Linked DNA regions of Homo sapiens: all the other regions are linked to region 3. Evidence: promoter capture Hi-C in 16 types of primary human blood cells and fetal thymus (Javierre and others, 2016). All regions are on one chromosome and are shown on one strand. The core of a region is centred on a gene start or on the middle of the fragment in contact, and the rest is flanking DNA. Distances in the headings are between cores, read along the strand shown. Region 1 holds the start of WDPCP (WD repeat containing planar cell polarity effector). Region 2 holds the start of UGP2 (UDP-glucose pyrophosphorylase 2). Region 3 holds the start of ETAA1 (ETAA1 activator of ATR kinase).

What was found. Contacts are between HindIII fragments. The CHiCAGO score rates a contact against its expected background, and 5 or more counts as called.
Region 1: the fragment with the promoter of WDPCP here is called in contact with the fragment with the promoter of ETAA1 in region 3 in 1 of 17 cell types (monocytes); the score reaches 7.0 in monocytes.
Region 2: a contact is called between the fragment with the promoter of UGP2 here and the fragment with the promoter of ETAA1 in region 3, in 1 of 17 cell types (monocytes). The highest score is 5.5, in monocytes.

The regions. Positions count from the first base shown.
Region 1 is chr2:63,587,174-63,589,873 of GRCh38, forward strand. WDPCP (WD repeat containing planar cell polarity effector) reads right to left here and starts at 1,304. Exons shown (of 18, transcript NM_015910.7): 1 at 1,024-1,304. The coding sequence starts at 1,098. It overlaps MDH1 (malate dehydrogenase 1), which reads left to right and starts at 1,790. Exons shown (of 9, transcript NM_005917.4): 1 at 1,790-1,873. The coding sequence starts at 1,871. RefSeq lists enhancers at 469-989, 1,501-1,820. The HindIII fragment of the contact is 5,833 bases long and covers 483-2,700 here.
Region 2 is chr2:63,840,506-63,843,205 of GRCh38, forward strand. UGP2 (UDP-glucose pyrophosphorylase 2) reads left to right here and starts at 1,391. Exons shown (of 10, transcript NM_006759.4): 1 at 1,391-1,699. The coding sequence starts at 1,681. It also overlaps a transcript of WDPCP not described here. RefSeq lists enhancers at 398-577, 1,448-1,497 and a silencer at 1,038-1,347. The HindIII fragment of the contact is 3,639 bases long and covers 1-2,120 here.
Region 3 is chr2:67,395,917-67,398,616 of GRCh38, forward strand. ETAA1 (ETAA1 activator of ATR kinase) reads left to right here and starts at 1,417. Exons shown (of 6, transcript NM_019002.4): 1 at 1,417-1,755. The coding sequence starts at 1,533. The HindIII fragment of the contact is 4,361 bases long and covers 1-2,700 here.

The DNA.
Region 1 (2,700 bases), core at 54-2,553, 3.8 Mb before region 3:
ACACATAAATTTGAGAGTTTTTGACATTAAAAGTAGCATTTGAAGTGATGCAACTTATGAATTAGCTCACTGAGGGATTTAGTATAGACAGAGAATACAGGCACCCCAATGTTAAGAGATCACAACTAAAAAAAATTTAGAAACTCCGCAGAACTGAGAACCAGTAACAAAAGAGGAAAACCAGGAAAGTATGTTGTCTGAGAGCCAAATGAATAAAGAGATACAAGGAGAGTCATTCAGGTATGATATTAATAAATGCTAAAAGTAAAGCATTACATTTCTTTCCAAAAATAGCAAATCCTCCAAACTGAAATAGAGAAAAATTGAAAGATATTACTTGGCATTCATTTATCAGTGACAGAGAAAAAACGGAAGTTCTAACAATGTTATCTAATAGAGATGTTTTATTCATTTTCATTACGTATATGCTGTGTATGCTACTCCCGAGCATCATATCTTCCTTTTAACATCCACAAGAAACAAGCTTTCAAAAAGCACAGCAATTCTCTTGGCAGCATTAATTTTAAAGAGAACCTCTTAAGTTGTTTTACCAGCTGAGACTGACTGACTAAACAACCAGTGTCTCCCCTTCAGTCGCCAGTCTTTCCTTAGAAATGCCTGTTTGGCATAACTTTAAGACTCAAGATGGTTTAAGGCGCATCCTGTTTCTTCCAAAAGGGAATGGACAAAACTCAACATTCACGGAGGGCTTAGAGCAAATTAGAACCGTATACTGTGACCTCCTGGAAGGGAGAGGCTCACCTCCTACAAAGTAAATGCTCAATAAATATTTTTGATATAACTCTGGAAGAGCTCCATTTGGGGTCGGGGGTGCACCTACTCCAGGGCACCACCCCCTCCAAAATAGCTGCATTCCCACAGCCCTCATACTCCGCTCAGAAAAGGGACCGGCGAGCTTGCAGGCATCCGCACAGCGGATAAAAGCAAAGCGGGACGGCGCACCAACCGCATTCCGGATCCTAAGGTTAAAAGAAAACCCCTTGCCCTCGGGCCAGGGCTCACCTGTCTCGGGAGTGGGGAAGAAGCGCGACTCCCGGCCGCTTTGGAGTAGGCGTCCCAGCAAAACTCTCGCCTCATCACCAGACACTACCCCGGGCAGAAGGTTCCTAGGCTAGGTCCTCGGACCCGAGAGGGAGCGACACGCTCGCTTGGTCTCTTGGGTCTCCAGGACGCCGCCGCCGCCGCCACAGTTTCCTCAGGTGCTACAAAGCAGCCAGGGTGTGCGTGCGCTCCCGCCTCGTCGCTTAGCAACCTGAGAAGCTGTCCGGTCGTCCCAACTTATCAATTCCCCCGCCCCTCCAGAGTGTCAATCGTTTTTTAAAAGATTTTGTTTCCGGGTCGATCCAGCTTTACGCAGCGGAAGGTCTCTTTACCTCCCACGTTTACCCTCATGGGAGGATGCAGTCTCAGTCACGCGCGTGGGGGTGATGTCGCTAAGGGGTGATTCTCCCCTCCCTAGAGTTACACACGCTATCTCTCCCGCCAATTGCCGGGCTCCATCAGGCAGGTCCTTTCCTCCTGAGCCCAAACCATCCGTTTGTTGTCGTCCTCCAATCACAGGGGCTCATCCTCAGGGACTACTTTGCAATCGGCGCAGAGCGCAGTGAGAAGAGCTTGAAAAAAACCTCTGGTATCGGGAAGTGTAGTTCAACACTTGAAGGAAATGCTTTGGAGATTGCGCCACAACCAGGGCAGCGTAAACTACAGTTCCCAGAGAGCGCCGCGTCGGGAGCGGAGCCTTTTCTCGCTAACACCGCTCGCCCTCTCCGAGTCAGTTCCGCGGTAGAGGTGACCTGACTCTCTGAGGCTCATTTTGCAGTTGTTGAAATTGTCCCCGCAGTTTTCAATCATGGTGAGTGTGGGCCCCGGGTTCCTGCCCACCTCTGGCCCTCGCGCCCTTGAGTGGGGTTTCTTGCACTTTAGGGACTTTTGGGAGGCAGCTGTGCAAGGCACTGTCCTTCGCGCCCTTTGGCAAGCTCGGACTCATCTTCTGGGGATTGCCGCAGTGACCCAGTAATGGGAAGGGATTGATTTCCACCTTGCGGGGTATGGGGCGCTCTTAGGAGGACTCTGGAGAAGTAGTTGTCCTGGGAGAGGAGCGATCTTAATCCTGCTGCATGACGGGAGGACAAAATGCGACGCTGCAGCTATTTTCCAAAGGACGTTACGGTGTTTGATAAGGACGATAAGGTTTGCGATGGGAGGGAAAGGTTGGGTCCTAACCCCTTTTTCTCCTCATTTGCCCACAGTGTTTATAACGGCTTTTGTCACAGGGACCTTGAAAGCAAAAAGCTGGAAAGGTAGTATTTACCAGGTGCTCCAGATTACGATCTGCGTTTGCAGCAGACGTGTTTCCGCCATATCTAATTTCTCAAAATGTTATTTGGAACCCGTTCATTGACCTTTTTTGTAATGCCAGGATATATTGAAGTGACAGCATCACTAACTAAATAACTACTGCAAATATTCTTTATTGAACTGTATATTGTGAATTCCAGAAGCACCTCTCTTAAATGTAACAGAGTAACCATTTTGTCATGGAAGACCTGGGTAACCTGCATCTCCATCGCTTGTCTCTGCTGAAAGAGAGGGGGAGGGGGAGAGTTGGTGAAGGAACTCTGGCGTAGGAATAATCTGCGTACTGCTTGAAGGTGACATTTGTCATCAAACTCAGAGAAA
Region 2 (2,700 bases), core at 141-2,640, 3.6 Mb before region 3:
ACCCTCCTTTTGTTAGCTGGCCCACACAGGCCAATGCCTACTCCCTAACGCATCCTCACCCTCCCCCAACCAGATGTGATGAGGGGAGCAAGCGTCCCCTGAGAAGCGTCTGGGCTCCCTCGGGGCAGCTGCGGTGGGGAGCTCCGGCTCTATCCGCAGGGCTTTCTTTAGTCCCTAGTCAGCGGGAATATTTTTACTGATTGGAAAAATAACCAGTCGTGCTCAGGTGCTCTCCCTCACTGAGATATACTGGCGAGGCTTCCCTGGCCGCAACGCCGCCGTAAGTGCTGCTCCCACGCGCGGTATCCCCGCGTACTGCTCAGTGCCCAACTCCGACGGGCTCTCAAGTGCCGCAACGCCCCGCCCCTTGCCACCTCCACACGTCTCATTGGCCAGAGCCTGCGTCCGCCTCGGCTCCTGACTGGCGGCTGCGCCTGTCGGTCCGTGCGGCAGGGACATTTCCGCATTGAAGGGGCTGCTCCGAATGGAGGGGGAGGGGAGGTGTTTAGGAGAAAGTAGGGGCTGTGGGTGTCGGGAGCCGGCTGACGGGTGGACAAGGGGGGGTTAGCAGCTGGGCTGCGACCGTTAGGGAGGGGCTCAAGGTGTGCATGTGTGAGGGAAGAGAGAGAGAGAGAAGGGCGCCTCAGAGGTGACTTTCAGCCTGCGAGCCTTCTTCCCGGGGCGCCATAAACGCCCCCAATTTCCCAGCTGCTAAAGGAAGAGGAAGGTGGGTCTCGCTGGCGGCTTGAGGAGGGGCGGGGTTGGGCTTCCGGCGACCCCCTGGATGAGTGTGTTTCCCGCTCTCGCTGGCCCGCTGTGTGGTCTCGGAGGCGGAATTTGGGCTTCTGAGGAGCGCAGGGCAGGCGGGGCGAGAATATGTACGGGAAGGGTCGGTGCCCTCCCTTGGGACTCCCGCGCCGGTGCACGGGTCTGCCTCTAGCCGGTGACCCCTTAGTGTCCGCTGCGGGGGAGGGGCAGCGTAGCCTTCGGCCCCTACCGAGAAAAAGCTGCGGCCGGGTTTCACTGCTCGAGGCGGGAAGGCGGGGAGCTGAGGCCCCGACCGGTCGGCCAGCCAGAGCGTGGAATTGGTAGCGCCTCCTAGTCCCAGGATGTTTATGGCTGGTGAAAATGGTTGCACTGCCCCCGCTGGCCGGCCTCGCCCGCCTCCCCGACCCCTGCTTGGGCGGGAGCCGCTGTTAACCGGGGTTTTCGGGGGAGGCGTTTGGGGCCTGGACGGCGGCGCGGGGAGGGGGCAGCTAGGGGCGCGGCCTGCCAGTGCCTCCTGCAGTACAGCCCTGGAGGGCGTGGGGACTTGGGGGCGGTGAAATAGCCGCTGTAGGTCCGCCTCTTTCATTGAAGAAATTTAAGTTCGTGTGGTTTTACCTTTTCCGGGAGTCTCCAGCTGGCCCTCATTTGTGTCCGGAGCTCAGGAGTTCCCAAACCGACTCAGTCGCACCAAGTTTCCGTCTTTTGGAATTGGGGAAGGAGTTTCTTTCTTTCTTTTCTTTTTTCTTGAGCCAGTTTTAATCGCTTTGAATAAATACTCCCTTAAGTAGTTAAATATAGGAGGAGAAAGAATACATCGGTTGTTAAAGCAGGAGAGGAAGAGAGACCTGCCCTGTAGCGTGACTCCTCTAGAAAAAAAAAAAAAAAGCCGGAGTATTTTACTAAGCCCCTAAAATGTCGAGATTTGTACAAGGTAAGAAATGCTGCTGCTTATATCCCGAGTTGCTTCAGGCAAATTTGGGTACTGACAGTGGAGAGGTTGGTGGGTGGTTTGGAAGTGGAAATGTTCATTTGAGATAACATTTGCGAAACCCTTTTCGTTGAATTGTCATCTGAGCTGCCTTGAGCTGCTGGGTTGACGTTCCAGACGCGTATAATTTATGCTCCTGTACCCTGCTGGGTTTAGTTTTGCCTCCCTGAAATCAGGTTAGTAGTACCGTCGCTTTCCTGGATAGTGGCTGTAAGTGATAAAACAGGATTTTTGGCTGCTAATTAATCCTTGTTCTCTTTTCCTGGTCTGTGTCAAGGTACCTGTGCGTGCACGCAGACGGGAAGGGCTGGGGAAGCGGGAGGACTGAGAAAAGCCGGGTGGGTTTTGCCGGGACTGTTGGGGAAGCTTTAGTGTTCTCCGCTTCTACTTCGTTTGTGTGTACGTGGTTTGCGTCTCAGATTCACTTATTGCGAAACTGGGAGTAGCCCGAAGAAGCTGGAGGTCATTTCAGCTGGAGAAATGACTTTGCTGCATTGCTGTGTTTATTTTTTCCTTTTTTGAACTATGAAAAGATGATTAAGGTTCCTTTGAAGTTTGAAAACTGCTCTCTAAATTCCACATGTGTATTTAAAAAGGGTTAGGGAATGCCTCAACTGAGATTATCAGTAACGTGTATATGAATGCATGTGTGTACGGTGTACTCACTGAAATTGGTGCTGGCATAAACCTTTGACACCAGTTTGTAGCATGAGATTTGCCTTCTGGTATGCAAGTAAACTCTTTCCTTGTAGACTCCAGTGTGTGAAAGCTTCAGCCATCTTGATGAACACACAGCTAGTAAAGTTCACAAACACTTATTATGCTTCCTGATAAATGTAGGTGTACTTTTGGAAAAAAAAAGTTGTGTCAGTAATGGCCATCATTTGACCCTGGGAATAAAAATGCCCTACTGAGTTCTACATCGCTTTATTAACTCTTCTTTA
Region 3 (2,700 bases), core at 167-2,666:
TCTGTGCTATCCTGTTTCTTTCATCTTTGTCTATCCTGACACCATCATAACACTGTCTTAATTACCATATAAGTCTTGATACCTGGTAGATATCAACCCTCATTATTCTTCGAGAGATCTTCAAGAGTTTATTGATATTTTTGGTCCCTTGCATTTTCATATAAATTTTAGAAAAAACTTACCATGTTACACACACACAGTCACACACTGGGCCTTCATATGTATTTATGTTGAATCTATAGGTCAGTTTGGAAATAGCTGACATTGTAACAATATTGAGTCTCACAACCCATGAACATAGTGTAACCATTTATTTAGGTCTTCGTTTTCTTTCAAAAAAAAAATTTTTTTTTTTTTTGAGACGGAGTCTTGCTCTGTTGCCCAGGCTGGAGTGCAGTGGCGCAATCTCGGCTCACTGCAACCTCCACCTCCCAGGTTCAAGCAATTCTCTGCCTCAGCTCCCAAGTAGCTGGGATTACAGGCACCCGCCACCACGCCTGGCTAATTTTTGTATGTATGTATGTATGTATGTATTTACTTATTTTACACGAAGTCCCCCTCTGTCGCCCAGGCTGGAATGCAGATGCGCGATCTCTGCTCACTGCAAGTGCAGTGGCGCAATCTCGGCTCATTGCAACCTCCGCCTCCCAGGTTCAAGCAATTCTCCTGCCTTGGCCTCCCCAGTAGCCGGGACTACAGGCACGCACCACCATGCCCGGCTAATTTTTTGTATTTTTAGTAGAGACGGGGTTTCACCATGCTGGTCAGGCTGGTCTTGAACTCCTGACCTCGTGATCCGCCTGCCTCGGCCTCCCAAAGTGCTGAGATTACAGGCTTGAGCCATGGCGCCCGGCCTCAAAAATGTTTTATAGTTCTCTTTGTAGGAAGGACAATCTTTAACTTATTCCTAGTTACTTGCTATCTCATGCACTATTATAAATAGTATCTCTTTAAAACTTCAATTTTATATCTGTTGCTAATCTATTGAAACACATTGATCTTTGAATATTGACTTTGTATCCAGCAACTCTTAAATTAATTTAGTAATTTTTTCTACTTTCTTTTGGATTTTTCTATGCACATAGCATCTATGAAAAATTAACTGTATTTCCTCTTCTTGAGAAATTCGAAGACTCTCAATAATCTGAATTTGACTAACGTGCAATTTTCGTTGTAAATTCAATAAAAAGTTGCTAGTGTATTCAATCTTTCCAACTCACAAGCTCCCACTCTCAGTTTACGCGGACCTGACTACTACCCGAACAACCCCCACCAGTCTGGAGGATTTTGAGCCTAGACACTCCTCCAGAGCAGGCTCCTGTCCCGGCTGCGGAAGTGCGCGCGCCCTCGGCACCTTAACAGTTCCGCCCCTCTCCCGGACCCAGCCAATCAGCGGCCGCCTCTTGCGCGCGCCCCACCGACCAAAATGGCGGCTGCCGTTGGTGCGGGGTGCGGTTTGTAGTGCTGTTGCCCTACTCATCCCTTTGCAAAATGTGAAAGAAGAAGCGGCTGGTGGAGGCGGGCCATAGGCAATGAGTCGGCGAAGGAAACATGATGACAGCCCTAGCCCGAAGAAAACGCCGCACAAAACAGTGGCGGCGGAGGAATGCGGCTCGGTGGTCGAGCCAGGGAGGAGGCGGCTGAGATCGGCCCGCGGTTCGTGGCCCTGCGGGGCTAGAGAGGGGCCTCCCGGGCCAGTGCGGCAGCGAGAGCAGCCTCCGACCGCCGCCCTGTGCAGTAAAAGTAACCCCGAGGGTGAGACGTCGGCAGCGCGGCCTGCCTTGGCTTCGGCGCCGCATCCCCACATCCCAGCTTGCAACAGGGAAATCTGGGGTGGGGGTGGAGTCTGGAGCGTGTATTCTGTCTCTGGGATTCACCCCTCGAGAGTCCAAAAATAATCCTATACCACTCCCCGATGGGCTTTTGTCCCCGAACTTCAGCACTACCCCGTTAGGTTTGACCATCCATTTGCCTCCGCCACAGGAATAGGTAATGTGGTTTACCTGTTTGCGGGAGGGCGGCTGCTTTCCAGGCTGCTCCTCCAGTCAGCAGCAGTGGTGGAGTGAGAAGAAACAGCTGATAGGCCCGCTAACCTCAGTTTTTGCCCGGAGAAGTTATTTCTCTTTAAACCCTTTTTTTCCCTGTGACCTGCTTTAGAGAAGAGTTCATAGGAAAAGTTAAAGTTTGTCTCAAAGCCTGGTAGATGTCTCACCTCATTGTGAATAAACCGGAAGTTCCTGTGTGTAACATCCCTCCAAATAAGATACTAAGGATCTCTTTCGTCTCGATTAGTTTTAGGTGTTACTTTTTAAAAGACTTCTAGTAAATCTTAGTTGGAACTGAAACTCATACAAAAGCCTTTATTCTGGAGCATGTTCTTGAAATAGTGCTTTTTTTTTTTTTTTTTTTTTTATACCTTACGTGTCTTTTTTCTTTTGGGAAAGAATCTCGCCCTGTCGCCCAGGCTGCAGTGCAGTAGCACAATCTCGGCTCACTGCAACCTCCGCCTCCCGGGTTCAAGCGATTCTCCTGCCTCAGCCTCCCAAGTAGCTGGGACTACAGGCGTGTGCCACCTCGCCCGGCTAATTTTTTGTATTTTTGGTAGAGACAGGGGTTTCACCGTGTTAGCCAGGATGGTCTCGATTTCCTGACCTCGTGATCCACCCGCCTCGGCCTCCCAAAGTGCTGGGATTACAGCCA